Regions from separate parts of the Homo sapiens genome. Here regions 2 and 3 are each linked to region 1. The links are contacts of gene promoters, found by promoter capture Hi-C in human tissues and cell types (Jung and others, 2019). All regions are on one chromosome and are shown on one strand. Each heading gives the region's core, a stretch centred on a gene start or on the middle of the fragment in contact. The rest is flanking DNA. Distances are from core to core; before and after follow the strand shown. Region 1 holds the start of PDLIM3 (PDZ and LIM domain 3). Region 2 has its middle 11 kb from the start of CCDC110. Region 3 overlaps PDLIM3 (PDZ and LIM domain 3).

Region 1 (3,585 bases), core at 773-3,272:
GGGATACAAAAATGATTTGGTTTTACCTGCTGTCCTAGAATTAATTAAAGAGAAAAGCCATAATCAAGTGAAATCATATTTGGTCATAAACTGTTATTGAACCAAATGTCAAAAATGAGTGATACAAATTAGTTATGAGTTAGGAATTCCAGATAGAATTGGTTTCCCTAATAATAACTGCCATTATATCAAATATATTTACCAATAGCTATTGTAGTCCAACTCTGGAATGTAAGTACTGCTTTAAAATAAACATTTATAATGTCAACAACTCAAAATTTCAAGCATATGATTAATTATATTGACATACGATTATACTATAATAGCAAAATATTTCTTTTATAAACACCTTAAAAGTTTTCGTGACAAAATTATTTTGGTTAGAATTTAATATAAATATGATTTATTCTGTGTTAGGATTCAAAAGCTTATTCAATTTAAATAAAAACCATACTCCAGAAACTAAAACATTTCTTAGTAGATATAACGGAAACTGTTTTTGTTGGTAAATCTATAATAGGAATTGCTTGGCCCAGGTCACTGAAGCATTTTCTGCTTACTTTACTTAGGAACGTTTTTGGGGGTATGTTGAACAGTTTTCATGTTTCATATAAAAACACGTCAGATGTGTTTATATGTTTTTGAAAAATGTAAAACAAGGCTTGAAACGTTCCATTGTATGCGTCTGTAGGATACACATTTTGACATATTTTTAAAAGGATGTTGGTTCCCAAATCTCATAGGCATATATAAATAAAACAGAATTTAAAAGGTATTACCTTGTTCAAAATCTGTATGAGCAGATCAATCAGATTATAACACATACAATTATAAAATATGGCATGAGAAGAATACAAGAAAATAAAGTATAATACTCTGCAACTAAAAGTATAATATTCTGGAAGTTTACGCCTTTAGGTATTAAATGTTTTATATGTGATAACTGAAATAATACATTAATTTTCTATGAAGAAAAACATTGTGTTAGAAAAAAACCAGCTAGACCAAATAATGCTTTAGAATTAATTCTACAAATTTACTGACAGGAGAGAAACCCTGAGGTTTTATTTTTACCTTGTTTTCTCATTAGACAGTAGAGAACACCAAGTAAAGCTTGACTTTGACATTAAAGCATTATTTTCCGTTTTAGGCTGAGTGGTTTACTTTGCATCAGGTAAACTAAACTGTCTGCCACGTTTTCTTTGTAGCTAGAGTTAGAAGTTGGTAATTCCTAAGCCAAGTTCTCAGCTTTGGAAAACGTGCTCAAAATGCCTGGAAACTGAGGAGTGAGCATTAGGAAGACTTCCCCTGTCTGGGCTGATAGGAGCGGCTCCAGTTTGGCCAACGCAGGTCGTGCCCCGCGAACAGCGCGCTGCTGAACTTTTCATCCGGACGAGAAAAACGCTCAGATGCGCGCCAGCTCCAGGGAATGCCGGGGGGTGCCAGTCCCTCGCCTCTCCCACCCGGGACCCATCATTTGTTACGGAAGGGCGATGGGGTGTGTTTTATTTCTGTTATCACATATAAAACATTTAAAACCTAAAGGGGAGGAGGCACTCGAGCCTGGCAGCCTCGCCTTCCCTGAGCCCAGTGGCTCTCCTCGGAAAGTCGCTGCGGACCCAGAGGATGGGACACCTTTAGAGCGGACTTTGTCAAATCTCTGAGCCGCTCCGCAGCCACTTGACGGAGTTGCCGCCGCCCCCGGAGCTGGGCGCCGAAGCCCGGGAGCCAGCAGCGCCCCGTCCGCCCGCCCTCGCGCGCTTTCTGGCCGCCCTCGGCCCCGGGGCATCCACTGCGTCCCCCCGGACGCCGCCGGAGTCCCCACCTCGCAGCAAAAGCAAGAATGCCGACACCTACCCTGGTGATGACCAAAGGCTGGTTGAAGTCTATGCCCCCTGAGAGCCTGAAGCCCCAGGGCGCAGGGCCCGGGAGGATCACCGTCTGGGGCATGCCGCCTTCCTCCCGCCCACCGGGCTCTAAGTGTCCCCGCGCAGGGCAGCCACTCCGCGCCGGGCGGCGTCCTGGCCCCGACCCGGGCGGGGGCGCTTTATCCCCGCTGGGGGTGACGTCACCGCCCCGCCGTCCTCCCCGCCCCCTCCCACCCCGGAGAGCTCCAACTTTGGAAGCGAGAGCCGCGCCAGCCCCGCGGGAGTGCGCAGCCCGGCCGGCTGGGGCAGCCTCCCGGGCCGCGGCGGGCGCGGGGGCTTCGGGTTACAGCGTCCGTCGCTCTCTTGAAGTCACACCTGTCTCCCTGTTTATCTTCTGCTTGGAGCGCAGCAGTGCACTTTGTTGGAAGCGAAAGCAGCCAGACCACAGCCTCCATGCTTTCAATTAAAACGAGCATCATCGATACAATAAGTTATTTAGCAGTTTCGAGTGCGTTAATATTTACTTACGACCTCTGCGGCTTTGGCCAAATTACTTAATGTCCTTTTAAATTTTTATTTTATTTATTTATTTTTCTTAGAGACCGGGTCTCCACTTTGTTGCCCAGGCTAGTCTTGAACTCCTGGGCTCAAACAATCTTCCCACCTCAGCCTCCCAAAGTGCAGGAGAGTCTGGCCGGGGTCCTGTGGTAGTCTCAGTGTGGACTCAAGTATTTCTGGTGTTACGCGTTGGGATGTTGTGATTCCCAAAGGGAGAGGGGAGAATGAGGGAAGAGAAATAAGAAATGCTTTAAACACTCAAGAATAAGGGTCTTGGACTTAATGCCCCATATGATAGGGTCGTATTGGTCCAGGAGGACAGAGCTGCAGCAGACTTTTAAGAGGGCAGTCTGTTTGGAAGCAGTTTTAAGACTGATGGAGGAAAGAGAAAGGAGATGCAGAAAGCAGTAAGCAGTAAGCAGTAAGCAAAGCGAACCAGCCTGGGCAAATGTAAATCACAAAGGTAGGATGGGCATTACTTTGTCCGCTGTGGTGGATTACATAAAAGTCCCAGGGGATAAGCACTTTCTAGCTCCACACATTTCCCAGTGCCCCATCTATGCTGGACCATCGAGGAGCTGAACATTGTGTGTCCTGCTGACTGCCTGTTTGGGCTGTGGCTGTATCACTGCAGAGCACATTTCTTCAGTCAGCTGCTGGCTCTGTCTGCGTGGTGCAGACATACACGTGCACACACACAGAGGTCCATTCAGAAAAAAAAAATCAGACAAGTCATTTGGTGTTGTGTAATTATAGTAATTGTTTTTACCTTACTTCACGAGCTGGCTTATATAAACAGCTGATTTTTTCTTTGCCTTTTTGCTGGTCATTTTGGCATCATTTAGATGTAGCCAATATCTATACAATATCCACATAATATCTGATGAGTTCTTTCTTTTTGTTTTTTTTTTTTTTTTTTGGAGACAGAGTCTTAATCTGTCACCCAGGCTTGATGAGTTCCTAAGGCTTTGCAGAGAGTGTGGAAAGCAGGGACATGAGATGGGCAGTTTTCCTACATCCTGCTCTTCACGGAGACCAGCAGGAAAGTGCTCAGAAGTGACTGTTAAGGTAGAGGTGAGACTAGCTGGGAGGGAGAATTCTAAGGAAGAAGCACTGGCTGCATCCTAAATGGTCCTAGAAAATCCTGCTTTGGGTTTGG
Region 2 (3,585 bases), core at 409-2,908, 53 kb before region 1:
TGTAGCCTCTTCCAGACTGAGGAGTCTTTAATTCAACTTGTAGTACATGAGCCCCTTTTTCTCTTTTTCCTTTTTTATCTGACTTTAAAAGTTAGGAGAGCCCCTTTCTTTTTGATGCCAAACTGCCTTCTAGTTTTTAGACACTTAAAGAGCTGCACTGCCTCAGGCCACTTGTTTTACATTAATAATAATGGCATGTTTCCCCTTGCTATATAAAGTTACCATTAATGTGTACTTTCAATGGAGCTAATTAATTTGCAATGATAAATGCATGCTCCTTGCTTGATTTCTGTTGTGAGCCACGCATGAGTTAGAGGTGGCATTTATGACCATGGAACAGAAAGAAACTTCTAAATTGCACCAAGAACCTGGCCACATTGACAGCGTGCCCTCACTAAATGGAATGGCCAGCCTAGTTGACACAGGTGAAGACAATGTCAAAAACAGAACATTGAGTATTTGAGTATTAGAGGTCTCAGAGATCATCCTGTCCTCCCTCCTCATTCTGCAGATGGCCAAGCTGTGCCCGCATTCCAAGTCCTTATCCAGAGCTCTCTCCATGACAACCTTCTTAGTGACAGTATTACTTAATGTTTTTATTATTCCACACTGCTTTTGCTAGCACTCATGGAAGAAATGATTTTTATTCTAAAGAGAACAAACATGGACTATAACTTATCAGTGATAAAAAATAAAACCATACAATAGAGAGGAGGAATTTTAATAATGTTTAAATTTCATAGGTGTAAAGATTTCCAAACCATCTTACTTATTACTAGTGAATATTGGTGAGTTTACATGCTTTTTTCCTTCTACCTGTTTGGCCCTGTACAAAAATCCAACTCTCTGAAACTTTCCCTCATCTGTAAAATATTTATTTGGCAAAGTTGTTATAAGGATTAGAAATAATGTGTCAGTAGCTGGAAATCTTACTCAGAATTGACTTTAATTCTGTTAGTCTTCTAAATCCTTAAAGAATTAAGAATTGCCTTGAAATTACCATTGGATATAACAGAGTATTGTCAGTGAGTCTTTGGTGGAGTTGGGTTTCATGTGAGATCAGGCTTTTAAAACTGCCCTCCTCAGATGAAGAAAAGCTCCAGTGAGCTCCATGAACCTGATCAGTTTCAGTGTGAAATATCAGCTCTCTTGGGATCCGCAGGAATAGGAATCCAGCTCTGTGAACGTTGCAGCTTGATATAGTTGTGCTCATTTAATTGACCCTTGATTTTAGTACCAAAGAATAATTGGAAGAAAGAGGAACGTCATTTTGGATCTGGGATTGAATAGTGAAAATTATATATAATAATAGTTTCTTAAGGGATTACTTACAGTTTACTTAATAGGTGATGTGTTTGATATTTTTGTATGAATTATCTTAATTCTTACAACAACCCTGTAAAGTAGGATTATCCTAATCTTATGGGTTGATGAAACTGAGGTCTGGAGAGATTTCGTGATTTCCCTGTTTCTTAAGCTGACAGGTAGAGAGCTGGGATTCATGTCACCTCTGCCTGAGTCCAAAGATCATTTTCGTAACCATTAGGCTCTAATACCTGAAGTAAGTTATATTGAAACGGAATCCAGGAGACAATTTTGACAAAGCTTACTGAGAGCTTTGTGATTCCATGAAAACTTTATGATTATCCTAAGTGAAAAGCAAAGAGCCTGGATTCTAAAACCAGACTACCTGGATTCAAATTCTGCCTCCATTTACTACAGGAGAAAAGGAATAACCTCTATGTCTCAGTTTCCTCATCTGTAAAATAGGAAGACAAAGAGTGGCTACCTCACAGGGCTGCTGTGAAGAGTGAATGAGTTCATGCATGTAAAGCATTTAGAACAGTGCTTCGTATATAGTAAGAGCTGTGTGTTTGCTATTGATATTATATCAGCAATGATCATGCATTTCCAGAAAAGGGATTTATAAAACATCTAAATAAGGAAGAATATTTCTAACCATGTTGTTTCATTTGACCCTAAACATTTCTGTTCTTAGGAATGTATATACTTAACAGATTAATGACACATACATATTTATATTAGTGTTCTTTTTAAAAAGAAGAGCTTTAATGAGATATACTTCACCCATTTAAAGTGTAATTCAATGGTTCATAGTATATTCACAGATTTTGGAACAATCTTACAACAAAACAACTTCAGAATGTTTTCGTCACCCCAAAAAAAGCCCTGCACCCATTACTTACCATTCCCCATTTCACCGCAACCCCCCAGCTCTAGGCAATCATTAATTTATTTTCTGTCTCTGCAGATTTGCCTATTCTGGATGTTTCCTATTAATGGAACCATAAAATACGTGGACCGACTGATTTTATTGAGATATGATTTGCATACCATAAAATTCATCTTTTAATGGTATGTAATGTAGTGGTTTTTAGTATATTCATAATGTTGCACGAGCATCACAACTGTCTAATTCCAGAATGTTTTCATCACTACCCCCCAAACCCGTACCCTTTAGCAGCCACTCCCCACTCTACCTTCCCCGCCAGCCCCAGGCAACCACTAACCTAGTTTCAGTGTCTATGGATTTGCCTATTCTAGATGTTTCCTATGAATGAAGCTATACAACATATGGCCTTTGTGTCTGGATTCTTTAATTTAACATATTATTTTCAAGGTTCATCCATGTGGTAGCATCTATCAGTACTTCATTCCTTTTTATGGCTGAATCATATTCCACTGTATGGATTGGCCACATTTTGTTTATCCATTCATCAGTTAGTGGACCTTGATGCTATTTCCACTGTTTGGATGTTATGAATCGTGCTGTTGTGAACATTTGTGTGCAAGTGTGGACATATGTGTTCATTTTTCTTTATTATATACTAGACATGAAAAATTGGATCATATAAGTGACTCCATGTTTAACATTTTAAGGAACTGCAAAACTATTTTCCAAAGCAGGTTACCGTTTTACATTTCTACCAGTAATATGTGAGGGTTCCTTGTTCTCTACGTTCTTGAAAACTTTTGTTATTATCTTTTTAATTATAGCCATCCTAACGAGTGAGAAGTGGTATCTCATTGTGATTTTGATTTGTATTTTCCTAATCACTAATAGTGTTGAGCATCTTTTCATATGGTTATTGGCCAATTGCATATCTTCTTTGGACAAATGTATTTTCAAATCTTTGCCTGCTTTTAAATTGGGTTACTTATTGTTGAATTGTAAGAGTTTTAAAATTCTGGATACCAGACCCTTATCAGATACAGGATTGCAATATTTTCTCCCATGCTGTGGGTTATCTTTTTACTTTCTTGATAGTGTTCACTGAAGCACATTTAAGTTTTACATTTTCATAAAGTCAGATTTATCTATTTTTTTCTTTGCTTGTGCTTTTAGTTTCATATCTAAGAAACCATCGCCTAATCTAAGGAAATGAAGATTTACGTCTGTATTTTCTTCTAGGAATTTTATTGTTGTAGCTCTTGTATTTAGGTCTCTAATCCCTCTGGGTCAATTTTTGTTTATTGTATGAGATAGGAGTCCAAATTTATTCCTTTGTATACGGATATTCAGTTGTCACATAACCATTTGTTGGAAAGACTATTCTTTCCCAC
Region 3 (3,585 bases), core at 325-2,824, 34 kb before region 1:
TCGGCAGCCCGCCGCTCACCTCCTGCTGCGTGGCCTGGTTGCTAAAAGGCCACAGACTGGTATCAGGCCACAGTGGGGGCTGGGGACCCCTGCTCTAGGGATTAAGTGCTTCTGAAACAGCTTCTACTCAGCTTTCCTTATGGTAGTCGTACCTTTATCCTGGGGTCCGGAAATGCCAGGTGCTGCCCATTGCCATGCCTTTTTAAGATTCTAGAGAGTAAATTGGGTTGGTTTATGGTTTTCTCCATTGCTACTTTGAGTTTTAACTTTCTCAGGTTTTCAAAGTCAGTTACCATTCCTTTGCTTTCTAAACTTTAACTTTATATCCTTCCCAGAACAAAATGTTTGAAAATGACTGTTGAACAAACATGTATTTTGGATACATTCATTTCTTTGATCTCAAAAGTCTGTTTTATTTTTTTAATAGCTTTGTTAGTGAATGCATGTGTTGGCACAGGAGTTGCAATGTCAAATGCCTACAGGGGCCAGGCACGTGTTTTGGCTCCTCTCAAAATCCTGAACAGGTCAGGGTCAGAGTCAGTTAAGTTTGGAAGAATCCCAGAGCAATAAAACTTGTGTCCCATTTGGGACCTTATGGGAGGAGAACACTTGTTTCAGGCCAGAAGTTAGCAGCTGTGGGGGTTGAGGGGTGGTAGAGATGACCATGTGACACAAGGTGGTGAGACAGAGGGTCTGAGGGTCCCCACCCTGCTGGTTCCCCATGGTTTGAACCTGAGGGGACAGTTTCAGAAGTTCCTGTACGTCCCCAGTGGGGGACATGGAAAGTAGGTGAGAGATGCAAGTCAGGAGCATTGCCATGGGCACCCTGGGTGAGAGGCAAGGTAACGCCATGCAGAGCCTGCAAGGTAGGCTGCCTGCGCCAGGGCCAGGCAGAGTGCATGTCTCAGACAGAGGATCCATGACTCCAGGAAAGCTGAGCTGAGAGTTTTGGAGGTGGTAGTGGAGGTGTTATTATTGCCTGGCCTCAACTATGTCAAGAAAACAGACCACAGATCACAAGTGAAACCAAGGATTTCAACAGTGGATACAAGCAGGACCCCAGGAGACCAGCAGCCCCTGCCTTCCTTAGGAAGTCGTCTAAATTGTTTCTTCCTGGAGATGCCATCTTGGGAAGAGGAGGAGGTGGTGAACCATTGAGCCTAAGAAACAGCAGTGATGGACTTTGAACCTTCAATTTGACTGAATATTGATCTGAAAGAGATATTTAAATTGAAAGAGTCTCTGTTGAAGCAAGTGAAACTTTTAATTTGAAAGAGACTGAACTACCTTTAACTAGCAAATTTCAACGCTTCTATCATCAGAAATTTTGTGCTCATAAGAAAGAGTAATGAGTTATAAAACCTGAAGAAGCCACATTTATCTTAAAATATTTGTTAGTGTACATGTTAAAATATGATTGGGTTCTCTCATTGAAATGTTGATTTTATTTGAATTCAATGAATGCCACTTCATTAGGTATTTTTTAAATCTTTTATGTATTTATTATGTTTGTTGCATCGAGTGGCATAATTGTTTGAATACAAAACTAAAGAAATTCAGGGAATTTCTCCCTAACATGCACTGTAATAGTTAAAACACATACAGACAACTGCAGATTATGTTAGAATACAAGATTGTTATTTGCTATTTACCACAATTGCAAAATCAACTTGTCAAGGAAAGACAATTAGAGTCCTTCAAATATCTTGATGTTTATGTGTTTGATGGCTGTAATATACATGTAAATTGTGGAGTATGACATACAAAAAATTATTGCTTTAAATATCATTATTGCTAGCCCCAAAAAGAGTTGCAAAACATAGCTAAGTGTATGTTTTTTTCACATAGCAGGCATTTGCCTCCCATTCCTTTTCCTCAATAAACAATAGGATAAAGGTCTAAAGCCTTGACTTTAGATTTGGAGTTGACAATCTGCACAATCCTTCTGCCCAAAGCCATGAATGTCTTCTCGTGTAAGTGCGCGTGGGTGGGTGCGTGCGTGCGTGCCACGCCTGCAGAGACTTAAGCTTTGGGATACAGAGTGACCGTGTCATAGCCCTCTGGGGGCTTTGTGCGGGCTCTTGCGTGGGTTTCGCAGTACAGCTCCCCTTCTATGAAGAAGTAGCCCTTTTGCTTGAGGTTGAGGTTGCAGTCGGCACACACGAAGCACTCAGGGTGCCGGTACTTATCCCGCGCCTTCACCACAGCACCGCTGTTGGGGAAGAAAACGAGCTCAAGTTAAAAAACCACAGAGCAAAAATATGAGACAAAGGAGAGAACCCAACAGAGAAGGCAGATGTTCTCTATTTCACAGTCAGGAAACAATGGCCTCCAGCTGTGAAAGCAGGCACAGCCGTGAAACTGTATGTAATTGTCATGGAGATCTAGGATATCCACAATAAACCATCCCGTGTTTCTCTCTGATGTTGACGTGTGACTATTTTTCAGATTTTCAAACAAGTACTTTATAGAAAATTTGTAGGATCCTACTTCATGATCTTTCCCCATCGTTTCTTTGAAGAGGGAGACATGATGGAGACAAGACCAACCCCTCTGCAAAAGATTCTGCTTTTGACGGGGGTGGTTGTCTACCCAATGAAGAGTCTCTCTGATTGCTTTCCGTCTGCGTGGTCCAGCCTCTATTCAATGGAGCAAGAGAAAACAGATCAAAGACGACCGGGCGTGGTGGCTCACGCCTGAAATCCCAGCACTTTGAGAGGCCAAGGCGGGCAGATCACAAGGTCAGGAGATCGAGACCATCCTGGCTAACACGGTGAAACCCCATCTCTACTAAAAAAATACAAAAAAATTAGCCGGGCGTGGGCACCTGTAGTCCCAGCTACTCGGGAGGCTGAGGCAGGAGAATGGTGTGAACCCGGGAGGCGGAGGTTGCAGTGAGCCGAGATCGCGCCACTGCACTCCAGCCTGGGCGACAGAGCGAGACTGTCTCAAAAACAACAACAACAATAACAACAAAAACAAAACAAAACAAAAAACCAGATCAAACAGCAGAGATGGAATTCCTTTGGGGTGGGTGGATTGGCTTCTACTGTGAACAGTTTATTCCAACTTAGGCACAATGATTGCTTCTGGTAACGTCAGGCACTGTTGTATTTTACTGAGGGCCTCTCTGCTCCGAGCTCCCTGCCCTGCTTTGACCTTTTGGTCTCACGTTCCTCCTTTTGCCCTAACCAGGCTTATCCCCCACTGCCTTCTTGGGATGTATCCTGGCTAACCGGACAGAGGACACATCAGTGTGTGAGTTCATGGCAGGAGGAATGGAATAAGGGAATGGGGACGTGGCCACATGGCACGAATGCCATGGAGATGTTAGAATTATCTTGGTTGACTTGATCCTGCACTAGCAAGTGTGGCTATTTAAACATAAGGTCCCTGCCGGGCACGGTGGCTCACACTTGTAATCCCAGCACTTTGGGAGGCCGAGGCGGGTGGATCACCTGAGGTCAGGAGTTTGAGACCTGCCTGGCCAACACGGTGAAACCCCCTCTCTACCAAAAATACAAAAATTAGCCAGGTGTGGTGGTGGGTCCCTGTAATCTCAGCTACTGGGGAGGCTGAGGCAGG

What was found. Contacts are between HindIII fragments. The study calls those that stand out against the background at their distance.
Region 2: a fragment that was not itself captured here is called in contact with the fragment with the promoter of PDLIM3 in region 1 in 2 of the 25 tissues and cell types used here (IMR-90 fibroblasts and aorta).
Region 3: a fragment that was not itself captured here is called in contact with the fragment with the promoter of PDLIM3 in region 1 in 9 of the 25 tissues and cell types used here (aorta, heart left ventricle, hippocampus and 6 more).

The regions. Positions count from the first base shown.
Region 1 is chr4:185,533,485-185,537,069 of GRCh38, forward strand. PDLIM3 (PDZ and LIM domain 3) reads right to left here and starts at 2,023. Exons shown (of 8, transcript NM_014476.6): 1 at 1,858-2,023. The coding sequence starts at 1,950. The HindIII fragment of the contact is 14,334 bases long and covers 771-3,585 here.
Region 2 is chr4:185,481,093-185,484,677 of GRCh38, forward strand. No RefSeq gene overlaps it. Among named protein-coding and RNA genes, the nearest start is that of CCDC110, 11 kb to the left of the region's middle. The HindIII fragment of the contact is 4,244 bases long and covers 1-3,585 here.
Region 3 is chr4:185,500,272-185,503,856 of GRCh38, forward strand. PDLIM3 (PDZ and LIM domain 3) reads right to left here. Exons shown (of 8, transcript NM_014476.6): 8 at 389-2,212. The coding sequence ends at 2,023. Among named protein-coding and RNA genes, the nearest start is that of CCDC110, 30 kb to the left of the region's middle. RefSeq lists an enhancer at 2,030-2,529. The HindIII fragment of the contact is 6,731 bases long and covers 1-3,585 here.